Regions from separate parts of the Homo sapiens genome. Here all the other regions are linked to region 1. Evidence: promoter capture Hi-C in 16 types of primary human blood cells and fetal thymus (Javierre and others, 2016). All regions are on one chromosome and are shown on one strand. Each heading gives the region's core, a stretch centred on a gene start or on the middle of the fragment in contact. The rest is flanking DNA. Distances are from core to core; before and after follow the strand shown. Region 1 holds the start of STOML3 (stomatin like 3). Region 2 has its middle 13 kb from the start of COG6. Region 3 has its middle 20 kb from the start of LHFPL6. Region 4 overlaps LHFPL6 (LHFPL tetraspan subfamily member 6).

What was found. Contacts are between HindIII fragments. The CHiCAGO score rates a contact against its expected background, and 5 or more counts as called.
Region 2: a contact is called between a fragment that was not itself captured here and the fragment with the promoter of STOML3 in region 1, in 1 of 17 cell types (total CD4 T cells). The highest score is 6.5, in total CD4 T cells.
Region 3: a contact is called between a fragment that was not itself captured here and the fragment with the promoter of STOML3 in region 1, in 4 of 17 cell types (non-activated CD4 T cells, total CD4 T cells, activated CD4 T cells and 1 more). The highest score is 6.2, in non-activated CD4 T cells.
Region 4: a fragment that was not itself captured here is called in contact with the fragment with the promoter of STOML3 in region 1 in 1 of 17 cell types (non-activated CD4 T cells); the score reaches 5.8 in non-activated CD4 T cells.

Annotation. Positions count from the first base shown.
Region 1 is chr13:38,989,543-38,992,135 of GRCh38, reverse strand. STOML3 (stomatin like 3) reads left to right here and starts at 1,305. Exons shown (of 7, transcript NM_145286.3): 1 at 1,305-1,466. The coding sequence starts at 1,415. The HindIII fragment of the contact is 645 bases long and covers 757-1,401 here.
Region 2 is chr13:39,641,713-39,644,305 of GRCh38, reverse strand. No RefSeq gene overlaps it. Among named protein-coding and RNA genes, the nearest start is that of COG6, 13 kb to the left of the region's middle. The HindIII fragment of the contact is 179 bases long and covers 1,229-1,407 here.
Region 3 is chr13:39,622,146-39,624,738 of GRCh38, reverse strand. No RefSeq gene overlaps it. Among named protein-coding and RNA genes, the nearest start is that of LHFPL6, 20 kb to the right of the region's middle. The HindIII fragment of the contact is 8,597 bases long and covers 1-2,593 here.
Region 4 is chr13:39,570,326-39,572,918 of GRCh38, reverse strand. All of the region lies in intron 2 of LHFPL6 (LHFPL tetraspan subfamily member 6), which reads left to right. Among named protein-coding and RNA genes, the nearest start is that of LHFPL6, 32 kb to the left of the region's middle. RefSeq lists enhancers at 612-1,178, 1,179-1,746. The HindIII fragment of the contact is 1,103 bases long and covers 759-1,861 here.

The DNA of each region.
Region 1 (2,593 bases), core at 56-2,555:
ATATATTCATTCATTCAGCAAGTATTGTTGAACATCAATCATGTGCCCACGTTGTTCTAATTGTTGCAGATGCAATGGAAATGTTAGACCAAGTCACTCTCCTCATGGAAATGTATAGTGCAAGGCAGGGGTCAGCAAACTTTTTTTGTGAAGGGACAAACAGTAAATATTTTAGGCCTTACAGCTTGTATGGTCTGTGTCACAACTACTCAAATCCACGGGTGCAGTGCAAAAGTGAGCACAGACAATACAAAAATGAAAGAGCTGGGCATGGTGGCTCATATCTACAATCCCAGCAGTTTGGGAGACCAAGGCTGAAGGATCATTTGAGCCCAGAGTTTGAGACCAGCCTGGGCAATATAGTGAGGCCCCATCTCTAAAAAAAAAAAAAATTAAAAATTAGCCAGGTATGGTGGTGTGCACCTGGAGTCCCAGCTGTTGAAGAGGCTGAGGTAGGAAGATTGCTTGAGCCTGGCAGGTCGAGATTGCAGTGAGCTGTGATTGTGCCACTGCACTCCAGCCTGGGCAACAGAGTGAAATCCTATCTCAAAAAAAAAAAAAAAAAAAAGAAAGCAACAAAAGGACATACTGTGTTCCAATAACACTTTATGTTTTAAAAACAAGTGGTAAATTAAATTTAGCTGGCAAGCTAAAGTTTGTCAATTCTTGGTCTAGAAGAAGAAACAGACACAAGCCAAAAAATTATGCATATGATAACACGTGCAAAGATCCGGTGGCGAGAAGACATATCAAGCTTTGGAGGCACTGATAGGAGACCAATGGAGCTGCTTCACGGAGAGACACATGAGTGAGGCTGGAAAGGGAGGAAGGGGCAGGCCAGCAGGGTCTTGTAGGACACTTAGGAGTTTGGTCTTTACAATATTGACAGTTGGCAATTTTTTGATTATTTTAAGCAGGATGAAGACATGATCAGATTTGAGTTTCAAAAGCTCACTCACTGCAGTGTTAGAATGAGTTGGGTTAAATTTTCTCATCTGAAACATAAGGATGGATACACTTGCCCTGTGTATTGAACAGGTCATTGTGTAATCAGTGATCACACAAGATTTATACAAGGTGCATAGAAGTGTTTTATGAAATATAAATGCTATAGAAAATTACACAGCAATATTTTACAGGAAGCAATACCACCAGATGGTCATATTCTTTCAAGTTTTTTCTGTGAACAAAGGCAGTCTGAACTCATAAAAGAAATCTTTTTGTTTATGTTATCAGGCTTCCCTCACCAGGGTAACTACCCCTTAGGGAGTTCACTAAAGAGAAGGAATGTCTTTCACTCTCTCATACTTTCTCCTCTCCCCTCTCCCAAGCACATCTGAGTTGCTGCCTGTTCTTCACACTTAGCTCCAAACCCATGAAAAATTGCCAAGTATAAAAGCTTCTCAAGAATGAGATGGATTCTAGGGTGTCTTCACCTGAGAAGCAAGATAAAGAGAATTTCGTGGGTAAGTTCCTTTTTCCTGTCTTAGGCTTGTTTTTTACATATATGGCAAAGCAGGAGTTGTAGCATTATAGACAGGTATAGAGTAAGTATGAGATATATTTGCAGAAATCGGCCTCAATTTCATTTATAGCCCAGGATTTTGAATTCATTGCTTATGCTGATTTCATTTGCTTCTTGAACGGCAGTCTATAACTTGCTTTATTTTTCCTTCAATTTTAGATAAAGTTGGTGTTTATCTTTGAATTTCTTCTTTCTGTATGAAATCCTTCTCAGGATTTTGAATTCATTGCTTATGCTGATTTCATTTGCTTCTTGAACAGCAGTCTATAACTTGCTTTATTTTTCATTCAATTTTAGATAGAATTGGTGTTTATCTTTGTATTTCTTCTTTTTGTATTAAATAACAAAGATATGTTGAAGAGGCTGACTTTTCTCCAACTTCAAACATTTTCTGATGATGCTGAGATTAAAAAGAAAAGTTGGTTTGAGCTGTATCCTGTTTGATAAATGGAGAGAAGTTGAGAAAAAAAACTTAGCTTATAAGTACCAACTACTATCATTAATACTAATGACTATTATGTGTTACAAAGCATTTTGCTTGCATTATCTCTTTCAATTTTACAATAATTCTGAGGTAGATCCTCTTAGAATCTCATTTTACAAATGAGAAAACTGAGCATTGGAAAGTTTAAAAAGTTGTTCAGAAAGTGATTATGATGATGGTGTGCGTGTGTGTGTGTGTGATGATGGTGTGAGTGTGCGTGTGTGTATGACCTAACCTGTGCTCTGTACCTTATGTTGCCAAAAAAGCCATAGTACATGTTAGAAATAGAGAACACGTTTGGCATTACTAATACATAAAAGAAAAAACTAGGCTGCATGCACTGGTGCATGCCCTGTAATCGCAGCACTTTGGAAGGCCAAGGCAGGCAGATCACTTGAGCTCAGGAGTTCGAGACCAGCCTGGGCAAAATGGCAAAAACTCATCTCTACAAAAAATACAAAATTTAGCCAGGTGTGGTGGCACATGCCTGTGGCTAAGTGGGAGGTTGAGGTGGGAGGATTGCTTGAGCCCAGGAGGTTTAGGCTTCAGTGAGCTGAGATTGCACCACTGTACTCCAGCCTGGG
Region 2 (2,593 bases), core at 69-2,568, 650 kb before region 1:
TTCAATATATATTTGATTAAAAATATATGCCCAAGATGGTCTCAAACTCCTAGGCTCAAGCTATTCATCTGCCAAAGTGCTGGGATTACAGGTGTGAGCCACCGCACCTGGTCTCTTCTATTTTAAATGAAGCTGAAAACATAGCATTTCAGGTACATTCTTAAACAGGCCTAAAAATTTTAATGGTTGAGATACAGTGAAAATAAAAATATTTTCAATGATTTTTTTTTACTTATTAATGTTTCAAAAAACTTTTTGGCTTTCTAAATTTTTATCATTAATATTATAATGTGCACATAATATATGTATTAAATATTTTATAGTCATATAATTTTTATATATCTATTCGTATTTAAACCTATGTATATGCTTTGTTGTATGTATGTTTTTAAAAGCCTTTGTTTAATACTTTGTGATACAGCAACGGAAAGTAGCTATTCTAGTTTCAAGTTGAACACTAACATGGCAAAAAACAGAGAAAGAAACGTCTCAACATTTCACAAAGTCACAATATATATTACTGAATACTACTTATAAGAAGGTTCACCTAAATAAAATTGCATCTATAGCCATATTTCATTGTCACTTTTAGAATAGTATTTCTTGTCAGACCTCATCCGATTAGCACTGTTTTTTTCTTGTAATGTGGGTGTTGAATATCTTGTACTTGGAATCAAAGGAAGGTCAGCTGTACCATATTTTATTTGTAATTGTATTATGAGTATTATTTTCTTTTCTTTTCTTTTTTTTTTTTTTTTTTTTTTTTTTTTTGAGATGGAGTCTCACTCTGTGGCCCAGGCTGGACCAGGCTGGAGTGTAATGGTGTGATCTTGGCTCACTGCAACCTCCGCCTCCCAGGCTCAAGCCATTCTTCTGCCTCAGCCTCCTGAGTCGCTAGGATTACAGGTGCGCGCCACTACACCCGGCTGATTTTTCTATTTTCAATAGAGACGGGGTTTCACCATGTTTGTCAGGCTGGTCTCGAAATCCTGACCTTGTGATCAGCCTGTCTCAGCCTCCCAAAGTGCTGGGATTACAGACGTGAGCCACCGCACCCGACCTTGAGTATTATTTTCAATCTGTGGCTTCTCTAAAGGAATCTCTTTAAATCTATCTGTAATTTTGTAAAGACGAATTTAGTTAAAATTAGATGACATAATCTATAATGCCAACTAACTGGGTCCCTCATAACCTGAAAACTCAATGAAAGGCAACAAAAAGTGAAGCTTCCCCTCAACCTCTCAGCATTATGGAGCTTCCACGGTACCCTCAGGAAGCCTCCTCTACTGTACATGAAATGCAACATGTGACCTTGAAATGTAGACAGTGAAGGCATTCAACCAATAGAGTACATTTCATACTGCTTTTTTTACCTTTAAGATTAAAAATTAAAGCTCAGCAGAAGCTTTGACATCTTCTCACACCCCCATGCATTCTCTTACCTACATCCTGGAGTTTATGCTCCACTTTGGAGGACATTAGTGTAGAGAATCGAATCCACACTGCTTTCTCTGGCTTCCAGGTGCTCTATAACTTGACCTCAACCAACCCCAGCACGGCCTATATTTCACTCTCACTGCTGCCCTATGTTTAGTTTCTACTATACTCCAAGAGTTTTAATCCTGTTTCTTAACATGCCCAGTGCTTGCCCTCCTCACCATGCTCATGCCTTCTCTTCTGCCTGCAATGTTCTGCCCCTGTTACCCCTGTATCACCACCTACCAGGTTTCTCCTTCATTAAACCTCCTTCCGTCTGGGGTATCATTTTTTTTTAACCTCATCTGAACAAAGATTCATAGAATTGAAAAGTTCTCTTTGACATCTGAGGTAGAAATAATTATGCACATGTATTATCTCTTCTATGAGTAGATTATAAACATAAGGTGCCCTTAAGAAGGGGCACCAGAGGCTGGGCATGGTGGCTCATGCCTATAATCCCAGCACTTTGGGAGGCTGAGGTGGGCAGAATACAAATTCAAGAGATGGAGACCATCCTGACCAATATGGTGAAACCCCATCTCTACTAAAAATATAAAAATTAGCTGGGCATGGTGGCACGCACCTGTAGTCCCAGCTACTCAGGGGGCTGAGGCAGAAGAATCGCTTGAACCCGGGAGGCGGAGGTTGCAGTGAGCTGAGATCGCACCACTGCACTCCAGGCTGGCGACAGAGCGAGACTCCATCTAAAAAAATAATAATAAAATAAAATTTAAAAAAAGGGGCACCAGGTCTCATTAATTTTTCTGTTCTCAACAATTACCCTGCACACTTTTTGGCATATAGCAGATATCCATTTGGAAGCAGTATGATAAAATGAAAATATATGGTTTTAGAATGAGAGATACCTAATTCATGGACAAAAGATTAACATAATTGTGAAAACTTTGGAAAAGAAGAACTTTCTATCATTTAGAGCTGTCCAACAAGAGGGTGGTCATACATTCACTCTCACTAGAGGAAGTGAAGCAAGGGCCAGCTGACAAACCTAGAGATGTTAAGGAAGAGACTTCTCCATTTGGTGGAAGATCAAACTGAAGTTCCTTTCAACAGCAGGAATCTATGGTTTGGAGCAGAAAGAAATGCCACATTTCTA
Region 3 (2,593 bases), core at 56-2,555, 630 kb before region 1:
TGCAGTAAAAATATAAATGTATAGTTCTAATATTTATGCCCCCTCCACCCCCAACATAAAAAAACAAAGGAAACAGTGAAAAGTGTTACTCAAATACAGAGGTTATAGGAGTATACTTTCAGTAGGCAGGGGAGAACCAAGGAAGAAGGACTCGCAAAGTAATTCTTGAACTGAGCCTTAAAGGATAAGGATTTTCCTTGGCAGAGAGAAATTTATTACTTCATGATGAAGTCTGGGAATAAATATTAGAACTTTGATTTTATTCTTTCCCACTTCAATATTTTTCTAATAGCATTCATTACTGTTCTCTCAAAGTGATAGGCCAGGATAATATGGATCCAGTAAATCCAACAGTCTTATATTATAGAGTCAGTCATTCCTAGTAGAATCACTTCTATTAGAATTTTTTGAAAGCATCAAACCTTTATTTGTTATCTTGTTGGACATTTAGTTGTTTTCAATTTTGTTTTTACTAACAATTATGTATATCTTCTTTATATACGTTCATTTTTGTGAGGTCTATGTCTGGGAGTGGAGTTGCTAGGGGAAATAACACACCCATCTTCAAGTTTACTAGCTATTGTAAAAACTATTATGCAAAGTATGGCACCAATTTATTCTAACTAAACAATTAAGAATCCTCATTGTACCACACTATCTCCAATGATTGATATTGTCAGGCTTTCTCATTTTTGAGAGTTTCATAGTTATAAAATGGTATTTCTTTGATATTATAACTAGTACTTCCTTAATTACTAATGAAATACCCATCTTTTCATGTCTACTGGCATTTGGCTTTCTACTTCTGGGAACTGCTTATTCTTTTGCCCATGAGGTTTTGTTTTGTTTTCTTTTCTTTTTCTTTTAGTTTATTTGTACACATTATTTATGTATTCTGGATACAAATTCTTGTTGGTTATATATCTTTTCTCAGCCTGTGGCCCATATTTTTACCCTTTATGGTGAACAAAAAATGTTTATTTGAATTTAACGTAGTTTCTCTCTAGAAATATAAGCTCTTGGACAGAAGGGCTTTTGGTCTCTTTTGTTCAATGATGTATCCTAAGTGCCTAGGGCAGTGTGTGATAAGTGTCAGATGTTTAAAATATTTGTTGAATGAATGAATGGAAGGAAGATTACTCATCTTGTCTCTTACATGATGGCATTTTGATGGGAATTGTATTGAATTTGTAGATTGCTTTTGGCAGTATGGTCATTTTCACAATACTGATCCTACCCATCTATGAGCATAGGATGTGTTTCCATTTGTTTGTGCCATCTCTGATTTCTTTCAGCAGCGTTTTGCAGTTTTCATTGTAGAGATCTGTCACCTCCTTGGTTAGCTATATTCCTAAGTATTTCATTTTTTTGGCAGCTGTTGCAAAAGGGTTGAGTTCTTGATTTGATTCTCAGCTTGGTCATTGCTGGTGTGTAGCAGTGCTACTGATTTGTGTACATTGATTTTGCATCCTGAAACATTACTAAATTCATTTATCAGATTTAGGAACTTTTCGGAAGAGTCTTTAGGGTTTTCTAGGTATACAATGGTATCACCAGCCAACAGCGACAGTTTGACTTCCTCCTTACCAATTTGGATGTTCTGATTTATTTCCCTTGTCTGATTGCTCTGGCTAGGGCTTCCAGTACAATGTTGAATAGCAGTGGTGAAAGTGAGCATCCTTGTCTCGTTCCAGTTCTCAGAGGGAATGCTTTCAACTTTTCCCCACTTAGTATAATGTTGGCTGTGGTTGTGTCATAGATCGCTTTTATTACCTTGAGGCAGGTCCCTTCTATGCTGATTTTGCTGATCACAAAATGATGCTGGCTTTTGTCCAGTGCTTTTTCTGCATCTATTGAGATGATCATAAGTTTTTTGTTTTCAATTCTGTTTATGTGGTGTATCACATTTGTGGTCTTCCATGTGTCAAACCATCCCTGCATCCCTGGAATGACACCCACTTGATCATGGTGTATTATCTTTTTGATATGCTGTTGAATTCAGTTAACTAGTATTCTGTTGAGGATTTTTGCATCTGTGTTCATCAGGGATATTGGTCTGTAGTTTTCTTTTTTGGTTATGTCCCTTCCTGGTCTTGTTATTAGGGTGATATTGGCTTCATAGAATGATTTACAGATGATTCCCTCTTTCTCTATCTTTTGGAATAGTTTCAGTAAGGTTGGTACCAATTTTTTGAATAGAACTCATCTGTGAATCCAGATTTTTTTTTTGTCCACAATTTTTAAATTACTGTTTTAGTCTTGCTACTTATGATTGGTCTGTTCAGACTTTCTATTTCTTTCTGATTTAATCAAGGAGGGTTGTATATTTCCAGGAATTTATGCATCTCCTTTAGATTTTCTAGTTTGTGTAGATAAAGGTGTTTATAGTAACCTTGAATGATCTTTTGTTATTTCTGTGGTATCAGTTGTAATATCTCCCGTTTTATTCCTAATTGAGCTCACTTGTATCTTGTCTCTTCTTTTCTTGGTTAATATCACTAATAGTCTATCTTTTTTTAATCTTTTCAAAGAACCAGCTTTTAATTTCATTTATTTATTTATTTATTTATTTATTTATTTAATTTATTTATTT
Region 4 (2,593 bases), core at 61-2,560, 580 kb before region 1:
CCCCTTGCCCTCAGCCTTGTGACCCAAAGACCATGTGACTGGCTGACTTGGAGGAGAAGCTAATGGTCATTGACTGGTATTTCACAAATCCAGAATCCTTCCACTTAGGAGAAAGATGGCTTTTTCTACCAGTTTTTGATGGCTTGGGTATGCAAACTCAGAAGGTTAAGATCTGGCTATTTGTGCAACAGCTGAGTCTTAAAGTGGAAGGTGACGATTAAAGGAAATAGAGGACAGGAGAGGCAGGCAGCAAGAGTGGAGGAGACACAGAACCGCCAACACATTTTAGTTATGAGCAGAAGGAAGATAGGTGGCCAAGCCTACTTTGCGTAGAAAATTGGACTGTGGTGTGTTTTCCTTTTCAAAAGCTGTAACAATTAGGGATAAAGCTTTTACTTCTTAAAGAGAGGTTTTTGAGTAATAGGAGATGGATGTACTGTATAATACCCTTTATTGAGAATCGGACTGGAACCTCTGAATTATGGCTTTATACATATATTCATAGAAGATCTATGTCTGGGCCCTGCATTTGTGTACGTGTATATGTTTCTGGAAAGAGGTCTCAGACTGATTCTCACTGGGGACTGTCACACACACACACACACACACACACACACACACACACACACAGAGTTTAAAAAATATACTACCACGGCTCTGAGCCATAAATGACTAACTCTTTAGATTTTTCTATCTTAAATGCTTTATTTTATATTTGATTGTATGCAATATTAGGTGTCTTTATTTTTATGAAAGCTTACTACGTTGCTATCTGATTGCTACTTATGTAGGACACAAGTACAATTCTAGGAGATTCTTGTCCTGTGATACAGTATCCTTGGCCAGTTCATGTCCTTTGCCCCTGATTTAATTGTCACATTTATAACCTTGGACATATTGATGCAGGATTTTTCTCAGCCCCTTCACCAACTCACGGCAGGGGAGCCCCCTCTACTTGGCTCGTCACACTCAACCCCTTGCAGGAGGCAGCACATGAGCAAGCGAGCGTAGGATCCGGCCAGCCACTCTGGGTGCTGACACAGAAGCAAGCTCCATGCAGGGCCCGTGGCCAGACCAGGCATGTCACCTTGAGGGGAATGTGGTGGCGCCCCTGTGAGGGTGCCCATGACCCCAAAGCCCCAGAGAGGATGTTACAGTGCTCCTTAAATTCCACTGTCCACGGACAGCGGTGTGTTAGCAGCTCAGTTGGCCTCTTGCCTTGTTGTGTGGGGTGGCTGCCCTCCGCCGTCAAGGGCAAAGGGCCGGTGTGACAGCCTTACTGGATACCCGCAATCAGTGGGTCCCGAGCTCTTGTCCGGCATCCAGGAAGAATGAGGTCACACAGATAGTTGAAGGATGGTGAAGGTGGGTAGTTTTATTGAGTGATGAAAACAGTTCTCAGCTGGAGAGGGGAAGAGAAGGGCAGGTCATCTTCCCTGATGTCAGGCTGTCACCTCCCTGAAGTCAGGTCGTCTCCTCCTCTACTGACTGAGTCTGGGGTCTTTATAGGCAAAAGGTTGAGGCAAAGACACCACTCAAAGTTGGATATGACGGTGTAGAAGACCAATTAGGAAAGGGTAGGGATATGTAAAATAGGTGAAGGGTGGGGATCAATAAGAGGAAAGCGCATCGAACAGGAAGACAAGTTCTCAATCTGGTCGGAGGATTTAACTTGTAGCTTGGCTTTCAGGCTTTAAACTGTCTTTGGCTTGGAGGTGGGGTTTCACCAGGGACCTGCCCTATCTGTCTAGGCATTTGGCTGCCTCCTATCATTATCAATATGTGGTCACAAACATTTATTGAAATAAAGCCTGATTTGTGGTTTGAGGCATCTTTCAGCATTTCCTAAAAAGAATAAGCTTGCCTAAAATCTGAACTACATGAAGTGGTTAGTTTATTGTTGTTTTTCACACTTTCAATCTAGTAGTGGTTAGATTAATGGAAATTAAGGATTCTCGCTTACTGAATCTGACTGGATGGGGAGATAAAGAATGTTATCCATGGGTAAAAGAAATTACAGGGTTCTTCTTACTTTGAACATTCATCTTCAAGAAATAGCCTCATTTGCTTTAGGCTTTTGCCTTAAATATTTAGGAGAAAAACACACACGTGGCATGCCCATGCACACACACACATTCACTCACACGCACTCACATGCACACACTGTTGCCCCATACTGACCGTTGATAGTGTTAATACTTAAAGTACAACTATTTTATATCTACCAGAGCTATAATCATGATTAAATCATTGTTGCTGCAAATGGTAATTGCATGGCAATCTTCTTACTTAGTTCTTTGATTATCATTCTATATATCATTCTAATATATACATTATATATTGTATTATATAAGATTATCATTTTATTTTATATTATTATTCTATTATATATTACTCTATTATTTTACTCCCACATCCTCTTTTCTTGCCATGTTTTTAATGAATCCTTCTGGATATTTAAAAATTACATAAATTAGCCAGGCGTGGTGGCTTATGCCTGTAATCTCAGCACTTTGGGACAGCAAGGCTGGAAGATGCTTGAGCCCAGGAGTTTGAGACCAACCTGGCCAACATAGTGAGACCCTGTCTCTAC